Regions from separate parts of the Homo sapiens genome. Here all the other regions are linked to region 1. The links are contacts of gene promoters, found by promoter capture Hi-C in blood cells and fetal thymus (Javierre and others, 2016). All regions are on one chromosome and are shown on one strand. Each heading gives the region's core, a stretch centred on a gene start or on the middle of the fragment in contact. The rest is flanking DNA. Distances are from core to core; before and after follow the strand shown.

Region 1 (4,836 bases), core at 1,789-4,288:
GAAATTTCTCTATATTATTTTCTTTAGAGTCTAACTTTGTTTTGAACTCAGATGTTTTAAGGTTTTAATGTTTTAATTTTATATAAAAGTAGTATCTGTTTTAAATTATCTTTGTGCTTAATATCCAAATCTTATCACTGTACCTCAATGAAATCAATGTCATAGTATGATGCTGGGATATAATATCTTTATTTAGAAATTGGTATAAAATCTTACTTCAACCACAAATCTAAAGGTTATTATCAGAAGTGGACACTGGGTTTATTTTTCCCTTGTGTGGTGATTCAGGATTTGTAGCCAATGTTTTCTTTTTAAGCATTAATATACTATTATTCCCTTTTTGAAGTTAATTAAGGGATAAGAATGCCTACAAAAGTGGATTTATGTTAATATGTGGCCTCCCAGGAAAAATGAGCACTAAACAGCTTGATAAAACACATAACAAAATCTTAAAATATAAATATCTAAACTACCACTTAACTTTCAGGGCATTTCATGAAGAAGAAACCCAACAAAATCTAATCCTTATACTTTGCTATTTCTATCATTACTTGGCTTCATAAAAATAGGGAAAGTTGTTTTCCCACCATTTATTTGATGTGGTACTGGGATGCTGTTTAAAAGTGTTTCAGGTATGTTGCTAGACTGAAAATAGAAAATTTATGCATGAAAAGTACAGAAATTTGATATTAAAAAATATTCACATATCGCCACAGAAAGGCTCAATGTGGAAAATAAAAATAAATAGCTTCAGTAAAATAATCCCTGAATCCATGCAAAAGTGTCTCTCGGAGCTTGTATTTCATCCATCACCGAAGAAATTCTCAGTTCCTATAATTTTCAATAAATAGCTGCCATTACAATATTCTCATTTACATGCGTGTGTGACATGCTGAAAAAGAAATGGCATATCCATTTTTCCTTAATCAAAGGTCCTTTTCCAGTACCACTGTAGTTAAGAGGGACTTACAGAGGCCTCATGTCCCACGGTAGACGCAGGAATTCTAAATAATAAACAAAACCAGCAGAGGGCAGAACTGCTGACAGAATTGACCAATCCAACCGGTGACCAGGTACCAAAAGTAAAATACAAACTTTTTGATGGATTTCACTTTCAAAGACACTCTTATCTATCCTTGAAAATGTGGAAATGAATGAATCAACATAATTAATCAACATAATAACTCCTTTCAAAATTCAAATATAGTCCTAATAGGACTTTCACTGTATTTAGCAGGAAAAGTCACCCAAGGGAATAATCTAGCGCTGCCTGCTACTCGGGAAGCTGAAAGCCACTAAGCGTGTGGAAGGAATAACCTGGTCTCAGAGATCGGCCTCCGGGAGGGCTGACTCTCATTAGGGAGAGCTCAGATCTTGGCATCTAGACCCAGGGCCACACTCAAGTTTCTGCTAAAGCCTACGCATTTGGGCTTGACCATTTTTATCTCCCTTGACCCAACCTCGTCAGTCACCCTCCTTCCTATCCCCCAGCTTCTTTCTGCACTCCTCACAAAGCTTGCTTTCTACTCTAAGCTGTCTGGGCTCCCTGACCTCCAAAGGCTTTCGCCTGCCAGTCGATTCTAAGGCACCTAACGGACCGCTCCAGCCAGATGCCTTTTCGGGAAAGGGCGGGGGAAAGAGGGAGGGAGAAGGCGGAGGGGAGGAGTGAAGTCGCTCTCCCTCCGTGGGTACTGACAGGGTTGCAGACTTCCGAGCAGGTCTGGCCATTGAATATTTGGTGGTGCCACGTAGGAACTGTTCCTTACCTCTCTCCTCCCACCCTACCCACACCCCCTCCCCTTCCCTCCCAATCCCTAGTCCTCCGCCCCCACCCCATTTGCTTGGCGACTTTCATCATTCTCCAAGAGAACTGCACGTCCAACCTGCAAGAAGAAGCGGAGGGGTGGGGTGGGGGGAGTCACTGAAATTCAGGGGAAAGTGTTCTCCCTATCTTGAACCTATTCCTAATAATCTGCCAATTTTTGTCCACTTAAAATAGATTGACCCTCCCCCGCCCCCCAAACACACAGAGTGTTCCTAATCTTCTAGATTCACCCCCCTGGTTTCTCTTATATCCCCAAAACTAAAACAGCCTGCTTCTCACTTGGTTGCAGACAAAGAACTTTATCAAGGTTCATTTTATACCCTTTATATTTTCTCCTCAGCTCACCCTTAAAAAGATATTCCCATTAGTTAGAATCTGAAGAAACCAGATGTGTTCCAAGGGCAGTCTAAAGACTGTGCCTCAAACAAAAGCTTTGTATAACTGCCCTTGTGTTCAAGGTAATATTTTTCCTCTTTTCAAAGAGGCTGGAAAGTGGTGAAGGGCATTTTCAGCAGGCTCTCCTCCTGACAGATCTTTTTTTCCTGCTACCTACCTCGTCTCCCTTTATTGTCCCGCCTACATTCATCTCTTTCTCCAGTTTCCAATTCCAACCTGGTAGCAGCTACAATCTGGATTGTATTTAAGGGAATTGCTTTTTTTTTTTTTTCTTGAAGAGCGGGGAGGAAGGGTAAAGTGGGGGGAGGGGCGCAGAAGCAGTAGGACCGACGGCAATCTCCCACCTCCCCAAATCCATTTTTTCTTACCTCCTCTGACCTCTCTAGCTTGGAAGAGGAAGGTCAATGCGAGGGTTGTTACGGTGAAATCCCAGAGCCACCGTTTCGTTTTCCACCTAGAGGACCACGGCTCCATCTCCGAGCCCCGCACTCACAACTGTGAACTCAACCCACGAAATTGCGACTGCAGACCAACTTCGTCCTTTCCAAGGTATCGCCAGGGATGTTTGCTACACAGCCATTGGGGAGGGAGAGGGGGAAAAAGTCAAAGGGCTTTTTCTTCTAAATTTGATGGTTTGCGTTCTTCGTGTCTCTAGCCCTTTCCTCTCCCTCTGAGTTGGCCCCACCGGCCGGGACCCTCCGGCCGCGACCCTCTGATCCTTCCTCTGCCGGGCCCTGCCTTCAGAATGAAGGCAGATGAGGGGCTTCCACCAACAAGCTGAGAGTACTGTGTGCCCCTAAAGGCTTCATGCCGTCAGTGGGCTGGACGAGTGGCTCCGGGCAGCCCCCTCCTCCGCCCACTCCCCTCCCTGCTCCCAGCTCCCCCTCCCAGGGCGAAACTGACAAGCAGGCTGAGGGTCAGACCCAATCACACGACTCTGGGGCGGCCCCAAGCCCGCCCCCGCCTCCCTCAGCCCAAGAATGAGGACTCCGAGCAGGCCCAGCCCACCAACCACCCCCCATCTCCCCACTCCTCTCCTCCCTCCTCGCCTACCAAATCCCCGAGAAAAAATGGGAGGGAGTTACGGGGGACGCGTGCTTGGCTCCAGCACTTTGGGAATGAAAGGAATTGCAGGAGAGCCCCGGAGCACACGGAGTTTTCAAGGAGCTTCTGTATTCAATAAAAACAGCTACTTGTCTACTTGCACCCGTCTGTTAGCCTCTCGCTGGTCGGCGGGAGAGGGGAGGAGGCCAGCGCCTGATCGGCCACACCGCTGGAGTCCTGGGCTGGCAGCGGTAACCTTATCCTTGTGCAAAAATCTGCTTCGTATGGCAGACGTGGAACCAGTGGACTCATTGCGCTGCCTACTCTGAAAAGTGTTTTTATTTTTATTTTTTTAACCCAATAATTAGAAGAAAGGAATGAAGATAGAATGGAGGGACCCTAGAAGTCAAAACCTAGAGCATGTAGGGAAGTCCTCTTTGGAGATCTGAAACTGACAGGTTTATCTCTTAAACGTTTAAATTCAGCACTAGGTTCATTCAGTGGCTTTCCTCTTAAAAGAGTTGAACTGTACTCTGAGGGAGAAGGAGGAAAAAATTTATGGGAGCTGACATTAAGAGGGTGAGTAATTTAATTTTCCAGCTGATTCTGTTCTGATCCTGGATGAGGGGGTACTGAGGAGTGTGTAGAAAAGGCGAGGAAAGCAACTAGCAGAAATCTCCAAGAGGCTCGGCCCACAGCTCCTCATTAAGGGCCTGGCCCTGGCCCTCAGCCTCGGGAGCCAAAAACGTGGTCACTCCACAGTGAGAGTAATGAAGAGGGCAGGTTTCTAAATTCCCTCTCTACTTAACCCATCCTCAAAGTAATCCTCTTACACCTGGAATATAGATTCCCAAGTCACTTTTTCCACGTTAAAATCATTCCATTCTATTGACTCCTTTTTGTTCGTTAATAATTCCTAAGATGTTTCTCTCAAAGATTTTCTGGAACAGTGCCCATCAGGGTGCCAGCATACATTAGCCACTCAATAGAGATGGGTTGGATGAATGAACACATTTTTCTGTTGACAAAGACTAGAAGCATTGGCCAGGGCCTACTTTGAGTATTTAAGTCATTTAAATGCTTAAAGGCCCTCAACTAAGTTTACTGGGTACATATGTTCAATTCTACAGCTGCCACTAATCTTTAGGAACTCAGTTTTCTATTAGTCATCAAAATATGCCTCATGATCTATCAGATTACATCAAATCTCTTCATGCAGTTTAAAATTGGAAGAAAGGTGATCAAAGACTAGATTGAGCCCTTATAGGGGTATAACAGCATGAACAGAGACATATAAACTGAAGAAAGCAACTAGAAAATACCTTCAATATAAATATCACTCTCCATAACAAAGAACTACTCCTTTATCAAGAAGCTATCTCTTAGATCACAGGTAAAAAAATACTTGACATTTGTAATGCTGTTGGCAGAATGTTTGGGATGCCTCATATCAGCTGCAGAGAAATATCATCAACTAGTTCTTCAGATTACAACCTTAAACTGTTGGTTAAAATAATTTAATATCATATTGCATTTGAACCTGAAATGCACAATTACAAATTAAGACCCTT
Region 2 (4,480 bases), core at 440-2,939, 260 kb after region 1:
AGATAGTGTTGCAATTGAATTGGAGGACAGCCAGCTGGTGTCTGCTACTTGGTGTGTGGAGGAAAATTCCCAGACATTTGCTCACATAAGTCTTCTATGTTGATGATTGCTGTGGTGGTGTAAGAGCAGAAGAGAAACACAGTTTTAGAATTTTTCTCTAAATAATTGATGACATTACTTTTGAACGTGTGATTAAGGTCATGTTCATCAACTATCTCATTGCAAAGGACCCTCTTCTCTTCATAATTGACAAGAAATCTGTGGAGTAACACTTTGACCCTGCATGAATATCTTATTCTCAAAATCTGTAATCCAATAATTTCAGTGTTTATTGGTAACCTTTGACTGAATCAATTATTACAATGATACTTGCAAATGGTAATTTTCTATCTCTATCATTCTTTCTACATTTATTAGTTGGCATTCTTCTATTAAGAAAAGTTAGCCATGCATGCTGGTTCATGCCTATAATTCCAGCATTTTGGGAGGCTGAGGCAGGAAATGGCTTGAACTCATAAGCTTGAGACCAGCCTGGGCAACAAAGAGAGAACCTGTCTCCACAAAAAAAGTTGAAAAATAATCTGTGTGTGGTGATGTGCATCTGTGGTCCAGGCTACCTAGGAAGCTGAGGTGGGAGGATCTCTTGAGCTTGGGAGACTGTGAGTGCAGTGAGCTATGATCATGCCATTGCACTCCAGCCTGGGCAATGGAGAAAGACTTTACCTCAAAAAAAAGAAAAGAGTAAAGAAAAAGAAAAAAACAAAAGCTTTTCTTCCCTCCTTCCTCCCTCTTATTTAAGCAACATAATGGATCCAGTAACAATTTTTCATTACATTTTAATCCATTGATGTAATTATAATTTTGATGTTCAAAATATTTCATATTTGGTTAGAGGAAGTCCCTTCAAGTAGACTCATCTATTTTTTTATGCATTTCCATCAGTTTTTGAGAACTTCCTGCTTTTAAGTTTTATTTTGCAATCTGGTCCTAATTGAAAGATTTACAAAACTTCATATCACCACTTTTTTTGTCTATTGGAAATTTATTAAATTATTGAGACACAAATTAGAATAATTGCTAAGCTTAGAATAACTTGGGTTCGAGGCTGAATCTATGATACACTAACTGCACATTTATGGATAAGTAACCTATCCACTTTAACTATCAGACTCTAAAGTACGGATTAATATCATGCCTACCTCATTGAATTGTTTGGAAGATTAAGTAAGATAATACATGAACAGCATTAGCAGTGCCCAGTATTAAATACTTAATATGTTAGCTATTCTAGAATTACATAATATTGTAAGCTATTGGGCAGTCAGTGGAATATTACAACTTTAGAAATACTTACCCTTTAATCTCCTTTATGAACTGAAGCCACCTATTTCTTATACCAGACTTTTCAATCAGTCTGTCCCCCCCCAAAAAATTTTATTATTCACTTAAAAAAGATTGGATCACTAGAGCCTCACAGGTGACCTTTCAAATTTTGACTATGCAGTTTTCCATTTTATATTTCACATTATTTTACTAAAATTTGTATTTAATTGACAAGCAGCATTATCTATTTTTACCATCTGATGAAGCCTTGTTTCCACAGGAAAACTGGGTCAGTCAAAGCAACAGTAGACTGGCTCATTGTCACAGTGGTTTGATTTCCTAAGAGCTAAATCTTGTGGGAATTTTGGAATGTCTCTTAGGAATGAACAAATATTTTGTTTCAAAATCAATATATATCACAGTCAGCTTTGTACAAACAGAAGGCATTGTATTTTGAGGATTCACATAGTGTCTGGCCCAATACTTAAAGCCATCTCCAATCAATTAAATGGATTTTTTTTTTTTTGAGACAGAGTCTCACTCTGTTACCTAAGCTGGAGTATAATGGGGCAATCTTGGCTTACTGCAATCTCTGCCTCCCAGGTTCAAGCAATTTACCTGCCTCAGCCTCCCAAGTAGCTGGGATTACAGGCGTGTGCCATCACAGCCAGCTAATTTTTATGTTTTTAGTAGACATGGCGTTTTGCCATGTTGGCCAGGATGGTCTTGAACTCATGACCACAGGTGATCAACCTGTCTTGACCTCCCAAAGTGCTGGGATTACAGACGTGAGCCTGGCTGAAATAAATTTTTTTGTAAATGTCCACTGAAGGTTCTATCTTTCTTAATTCCTGATCACCCAATACCCACTTTAATTAAAGGCTTCAGAAAGAAAAATAGGGCTATCGAAAAACTCTTATCAGGATAAGAATAATGGAATATTCAAGAAAAAGTGTCAAAGATTATCTTCAAATGAAGCTTATTTAGTTCTTAAACTATTCCAGGATAGCTTTTGAGCCTTGGGAAATAAGATAAAAATCTTTATTTCCAGTCTTTTCTGTAATGTCATATGTCTCATTTTAAATTATATTTAATGGATGATTATGGTCAAACTATTATGTGCATGGTTAGATATACTACTACTCCAAACACATATCAATAGCAATAAAGCATGGATCTGAAGTAAAAGCACAAAATGGTAACCTGGAAGAAAATTACAGGCCTAATGGCCTTCAAGGCTGGAAGCAGGCAGTGTTGCCCAATAGTTTGATAACTATGTGGTAATTAATATTTAAATTATCCATAAGAAATGGAAGGCAAGAGTCAAAATCACTGCTTGAGGCAAGAGTTACTATGAGAATTCTCAGTCATACAAGAAGACGTTAAAAAGCTACTGAAACATTGCCTTGGGCTAGATTTTCAAGGGAATATTTGTACCTAGGGTAGTGAGCAAAAAAAGACGCACACTCATGACTCAGGAACTGAATCAACTACTCACTATTTATATAACCATTTCTTGGGGCTCCGCTATCTTACAGTAAGACAGGAGACTCAAACCAATGTTACACCAGCTGATACTTCAGTAAGGTCACAAAGACAAGTATAGGAAAACACAAAACCCCCAAATCTTCTATATGGAGAGAAATAGAGGAAAGTTAACAGAAAACAAATGTGAAACTAAAAATCTTTCATTTCCCATGGATTACCAAACCAAAATATAAAATTTTCATTAGATATAAAAATTAAATGCCAAGAAAGGTAACCAAGAAAGTTAGCAAAGTGTCAACCCATTCCAGATGAAAAGAATGTGGGTAACACTCCAAAGGAGACTTCTCAAAAGCATGCCTAGGTTGGTCAGAGAAGTAAAGAAATAACATTTATTAAAAACAATTTAAAAAGCAGTACATATAAAATAAAATAGAGAATATAAAAAAGAACCAACAAAAATATTGAAAATGAAATCTATTTTCTGAAAAAAAGCTCAATAGTTAGAATAAAGTTTATGTAATCAAGATAAAATTTAATTTAAAAATTAGTCTAAAAATATTTACCAACATTTTCAACATAGAGAAATAAAGAGCAACTATGGGAATTGTAAGATTGATTAAGAAAAATTAAATTATTTAATATTAATTCAATGAAAATCTGATGGAGAAACAATTGTATTTTAAAGAAATAGTGACAGAATACTTTCCACAACCACAAAATACCCAAGTCCTCAGATTGTAGTAAAAGCTAATCACTAAAAACATTAAATTATGCTGAATATAAACTAATGAAAGTTTCATAAAACTGCAATCAAAGTGAAAGGGAAGATACAAGTTTATCACAGAGAAAATGTATTTCCCACAAATAACTATTATGCTGAACACAAAATATCCAGAAAAAAACATAAGCCACTAAGTATTTTATTTTATTTATTTTGCATTTTAATTTTAGAGACAGGGTCTCTGCTCTGTTGCCCTGACTGGAGTGCAGTGGCATAATCGTAGATTCCTGCAGCCCTAAACTCCTGATCAAGGGATCCTCCCAACTTAGCCTCTGGAGTTTCCAGGGCTACAGATGTGGTCTACCATGCCTGTCTAATTTATTTTCTATTTTTTGGTCTCAAAAAATAGAAAATATTGAGTCTGGTCTCAAACTCCTGAGCTCAATCAATCCTCCTACCTCAGCCTCCCAAAGTGCTGGGATTACAGGCATGAGCTACCACACCTGGCCCTTCTAAGCATTTTGTATCCAGCTAAAAACAACCATGAAATGTGTGGGCAAAATGAAGATTCTCAATAAACAAACAAATGAAAACTACAGTTTTCTAAAACCTTTAGATACTCACTAAAAGAAGAAATGAATATTTGCCAAATGCAATAAACTACGCGCATTTTAAAATAATTTTATATTTTTATTGTAATAAAATATACATAAAATAAAATTCTTCATTTTGACCATTTTTAGGTGTAATGTTCTGTGGCATTAAGTATGTTCACATTGTAGGACAACTATCACTGCCATCCATCTCCAGAACACATTTCATCTTAGAAAACTGAAATTCTGTACCTATTAACAGTAACTCCCCACTCCTCTTCTCCCAGCCCCTGGAAACCATCATTCTACTTTCTCTATAAATTTGATTACTATAGGTACTTCATATAAATTGAAT
Region 3 (5,088 bases), core at 2,511-5,010, 390 kb after region 1:
TCTGTCCAAAAGCTCCTAGATATGATAAACAACTTCAACAAAGTTTGAAGATATAAAATTAATGTACAAAAGTCAGTAACATTCCTACACACCAACAACATCCAAACTGAAAGCCAAATCAAGAACACGATCCCCTCACAATAGCCACAAAAAGAATAAAATACCTAATAATACAGCCAACCAGGGAGGTGAAAGATATCTACAAGGATAATTACAAACCACTGCCCAAATAAATCAGAAATAACCCAAACAAATGAAAAAACATTCCATGCTCATAGATATGAAGAATCAATATTGCTTAAATGGCCATACTTCACAAAGCAATCTACAGAATCAATGCTATTCCTATCAAACTACCAATGACATTCTGCACAGAATTAGAAAAAAAGTATTTAAAAATGTACATGAAACCAAAAAAGAGCCTAAATAGTCAAGGCAATCATAAGCAAAAAGAACAAAGCTGGAGGCATCATGTCACCCAGCTTTGAACTATACTACAAGGCTACAGTAACCAAAACACCATGGTACTGGTACAAAATCAGACCCATAGACCAATGGAACAGAATAGAGAGCCCACAAATAATGTCACGCACGTACAACCACCTGATCTTCAACAAAGTTGACAAAAACAAGAAATTAGAAAAGGACCCCCTATTCAATAAATGATGCTAGGATAACTGGCTAGCCATATGCAGAAGGTTGAAACTGGACCCGTTTATTACACCATGTACAAAAAAAACCCCTCCATATGGATTAAAGACTTAAATGTAAAACCTAAAACTAGGCTGGTCATGGAGACTCATGCCTGCAATCCCAGCATTTTGGGAGGCCAAGGCAGGCGGATCACCTGAGGTCAGGAATTTGAGACCAGCCTGGCCAACAAGGAGAAACCTCATCTCTACTAAAAATATAAAAAAAATTAGCCGGGCATGGTGGTGGGCACCTGTAATCCCAGGTACTCAGGAGGCTGAGGCAGAAGAATCGCTTGAACCCAGGAGGCAGATGTTGCAGTGAGCCGAGATCGCACCATTGCACTCCAGCCTGGGCAACAAGAGCAAAACTTCGTCTTAAAAAAAAAAAAAAAATTCTAAAACTGAAAAAAACCCTGGAAGGTAATCTAGGAAATACCATTCTGGACACAGGCCCTAGCAAGGATTTCATGATAAAGATGCCAAAAGCAATTTCAACAAAAACAAAAATTGACAAATGGGACTGAATTAATCTAGAGAGCTTCTGCACAGTAAAATAAACTATCAACAGAGTAAACAGTCTACTCTGTGAGAATGAGAGGAAATATTTGCAAACTATGCATGTGACAAAGGTTTAATATCCAGAATCTTTAAGAAACTTAAACAAATTAACAGGCAAAAAGCAAACAACCTCATTAAAAAGTGAGCAATGACATGAACAGACACTTTTCAAAAAAAGACATATGCCTGGCCAACAAGCATATGAAAAAATGCTTAACATCATGAATCATTAGAAAAATGGAAATCAAAACCACAAGGAAGTATCATTTTACACCAGTAAGAATGACTATTACTAAAAAGTCAAAAAATAACAGATGCTGCCAAGGTTGTGGAGAAAAGGGAACTCTTTTTTTTTTTTTTTATAGCTTAAATTTCTGAAAACTTTATTTTCAAAAATAAGCAAGCGTGAGAATGGAACAAAGAACACTATGTTGTTCCATTAAATCTGCAGGACACAAATTCATCTACTGTTGACATTTTATGGCATTTACTCTTATACACTGCTGTTAGGAATGTAAATTAATTCAGCCATTCTGGAAAGCCTGTGGTGATTTCTCGAAGAACTCAAAACAGAATTACCATTCAACCCAGCAATCCCATTACTGAGTACATACCCAAAGGGATATAATCAACTTGTCATAAAGACACATGCATGCATATGTCCATCACAGCACTATTCATAATAGCAAAGACACGGAATTAACCTAAATGTCCATCAGTGCTAGACCGGATAAAGAAAATGTGGTACATATACTCCATGGAATATTATGCAGACATAAAAAGGAATGAGATCGTTTCCTTTGCAGCAACATGGATGAACTTGGAGGCCATTATCCTAAGTTAACTAATCCAAGAACAGAAAATGAGATATCATATGTTCCCATTTATAGGTGGGAGCTAAACATTGAGCACAAAGAAGGGAAGAACAGACATTGGGGCCTACTTGAGAGTGGAGGGTAGGAGGAGAGGATCAAAAAACTACCTTTGAGGTACTATTCTTATTACCTGTGTGATAAAACAATCCATATACCAAACCCCTGTGACACACAATTTACCTATATAACAAACCTGCACATGTACCCATGAACCTAAAATAAACGTTAAAAATAACTATGATAAAAAGCAAATGAAAATATGAGTAACTTTTGACTTACAATTATACTTTTGGCAAATTATCCTCAGGAAAACCACAGCATTTTTTAAAATAGCCAAATAAAATTTCAAAAACAAACTAAAAATCCAATAATAGAGCTCCTGGTTAAATACCTAACAGGAGAGCCATTCTGTGAAACTACCACATATTTATGATGGAATTTAGAATATGCTACCTCATATAGCACCTTGGTATTTGAGGGAACAGCAGAAGCAAGAGAGGCACTTGCACCCCTTCCCCCAATCTGCTCCTCTGCAACAGACTGCAAAACCTACCTGATCTTCCTCCAAAGTGAGTAATAAGGCCCTCATTCCAAAAGGATCCTCCCTGTACTTGGAGGAAAGAAATGTTCTTAATGTCTGAAGGCACAGAGATGCCAAGAAGAATCTGAACAAACATGTCTTGCTGTTTCCCCCAGTTTTTTACTAGATTATACCCTTTTGTCCTCCAATCATAGTTCCCCATGACTGACCATAAAATACACAGATTTTTCTTGTTTATTTGGGTCTTCATTCCAAAAGGCATGAATGTGATTTTAATGTCATGTAAAACTTACATTAAATAAATGTATATGCTTTTCTCTTGTTAATATGCCTAAAGGTCTCAACCATGTACCTGGCAATGGGTGAGGAAAAAAGATATTACTTTTCCAAATATGTGTGTGTATGTGTGTGTATTCTGTGTGTGTGAATGTGTACCAGAAACAAATTGAAAATATATACAGTAAAATGGTAATGGTAATCATCTGAATAGTAGGATGATTGTTGATTTTTACATTCTTCTTTATGTAAGTATTTTTCAAATTTTTCTGTTACAAATATATATAAGCCACGAAGACATCTTCCTCCAAAAAGAGTGCTCAGAAATAACAAATAATATGGGGAATAAATAAAAAGAAAAAAGAAGTGTTCACTTTATTCACAACTTTAAAAAAACCATTTCATTTTGAATTTGAGAGAATTACAGAGTTGACTAATGAGAGTACCCGTTTCACAGGGAATGTCATAAAGACTTAAAAAAAATGGGCAGAAAGCTTGATAGTGCCTGATACATAGTAACACAGTAGGCACCCAATCAATGAGCACCAGTTGAACATTTTAGGCGAGGATGACAATATCCACATTCTAGTGGGCAGGCTTTGGATTCCAGTTGCCTTCAGCATATCCTTCAGCCTCTCTCAGTCTCAGTTTTCACATCTATAAATTAGGAATAGGAAATATCTACATGTATTTTGTCAGACACTTAAGAATTAAATTTTATAATGTATACAAAGACCAATCCCTAAGGCTTGGCTTAGAAATATTTCTGGATGACTAAATAAATTCTTGGAGAGAGCAAACCTGTACAGCCCTGACAAAAAGGGTGGTTGGGAGGTGAAGACATGAGTGTAGCTGGGGTACACAGAACTAAGGGAGATATTTTCAATACAGGAGAAATTGAATACATGCATTTATTTTTTGAAGAGAAGGAGACAGCAAAGAGCGAGAAAATGAAGCCAAGAAAAAATAATGGTAATCTGTGAAACAATATCCTTGATGAAATGGGAGTGGATGGAATTTAAAGCATAAGAAAGGTATTTACCTAAGTCATCTTTCCCTGTGAGACAGGTGGTAAGGATGGGTATCAATATGGAAGACCCAAATATTTGGGAAAAGATTTTCATGGAGTATCTCATCTTGAGTAAGCTTCCACCTAAAACTCGAAGAATATTCATTTTTGACCCACACATTTATAAGTATCTGCTATCATTATTGTTGTCATTTCCTGTTATCCATGGTATATTAGAAAAGCATCCACACCCTTTTAGAAAGCATCTTTCTAAAAGGAAACTTAGAAAGATACTTCATTAAGTAAAAAAAAAAAAAAAAAAAAAAAGGAAAGAAAGAAAGAAGGTCTTTACTTGAGTAGTGCCTTATCCAAACACCTTACCCCAAAGTTATTTATATGTTCCAGCTACCTTCACAAAATTAAGCCTCAGTAATTTGAACTCCCACTTCATATAAATACTGGTTAACACAAGGTATGTGCTTGTTCCCTGAATACTTTGAGTTAACATTTTGAACACGAATTTTTTTAACTTCCTTAAAAGAAACATTTTAAAGGTGTTTTGGCAGGTGCTTTGGCTAGCCTCACTGAATCTATTCATTAATACAAGACAGCATTTTCCACTGGTTGCAGACAAAACTGAAGGTAAAACTTACTGGGTAAACATTCCTGTTTACTTGTTATGGTAAACTGTTTTATTTATGGTTCAACTAGTTCACTATACACAATAGCTTTGTGTGATAAATTAATAAATAACACATAAGAGCCAGGATAGATGGAAGGTACTAAGTTAATGACAATATAACACTGTGAATTCTTAAAGTGAATTATAATCTAAGTATCTAGTAGCAATTATCATTTTCATCACAATCATCACTTTACTTTTATGTAGAATATAAGTTTCTTCTAGAAAATGCATATGAACATATTTCATATTTAGTAACTTTGGTATGCCCCCTATATATCAAGGTTCTCCAGAGAAGGAGAACCAATAAGATATGTATATGTTTGTGTGTGTGTGAGAGTGTGTGCGTGGTGTGTGTGTGTTGTAGATCAACATTCTGTTCAGGCCTTCAACTGATTGAATAAGGCCCATGTACATTACAAAGGGCAATCTGCTTTACTCAAAATCCACAGATT

Evidence for each region. The method cuts DNA at HindIII sites, captures the fragments that hold promoters and counts their contacts. A CHiCAGO score of 5 or more calls a contact.
Region 2: a fragment that was not itself captured here is called in contact with the fragment with the promoter of COL11A1 in region 1 in 1 of 17 cell types (megakaryocytes); the score reaches 5.3 in megakaryocytes.
Region 3: a fragment that was not itself captured here is called in contact with the fragment with the promoter of COL11A1 in region 1 in 6 of 17 cell types (M2 macrophages, endothelial precursors, M0 macrophages and 3 more); the score reaches 9.8 in M2 macrophages.

What each region holds. Positions count from the first base shown.
Region 1 is chr1:103,105,484-103,110,319 of GRCh38, forward strand. It overlaps COL11A1 (collagen type XI alpha 1 chain), which reads right to left and starts at 3,039. Exons shown (of 67, transcript NM_001854.4): 1 at 2,590-3,039. The coding sequence starts at 2,695. The HindIII fragment of the contact is 5,912 bases long and covers 2,255-4,836 here.
Region 2 is chr1:103,371,409-103,375,888 of GRCh38, forward strand. No RefSeq gene overlaps it. Among named protein-coding and RNA genes, the nearest start is that of RNPC3-DT, 150 kb to the right of the region's middle. The HindIII fragment of the contact is 1,219 bases long and covers 1,081-2,299 here.
Region 3 is chr1:103,494,955-103,500,042 of GRCh38, forward strand. The region is part of intron 1 of RNPC3-DT (RNPC3 divergent transcript); the gene reads right to left. Among named protein-coding and RNA genes, the nearest start is that of RNPC3-DT, 28 kb to the right of the region's middle. The HindIII fragment of the contact is 652 bases long and covers 3,435-4,086 here.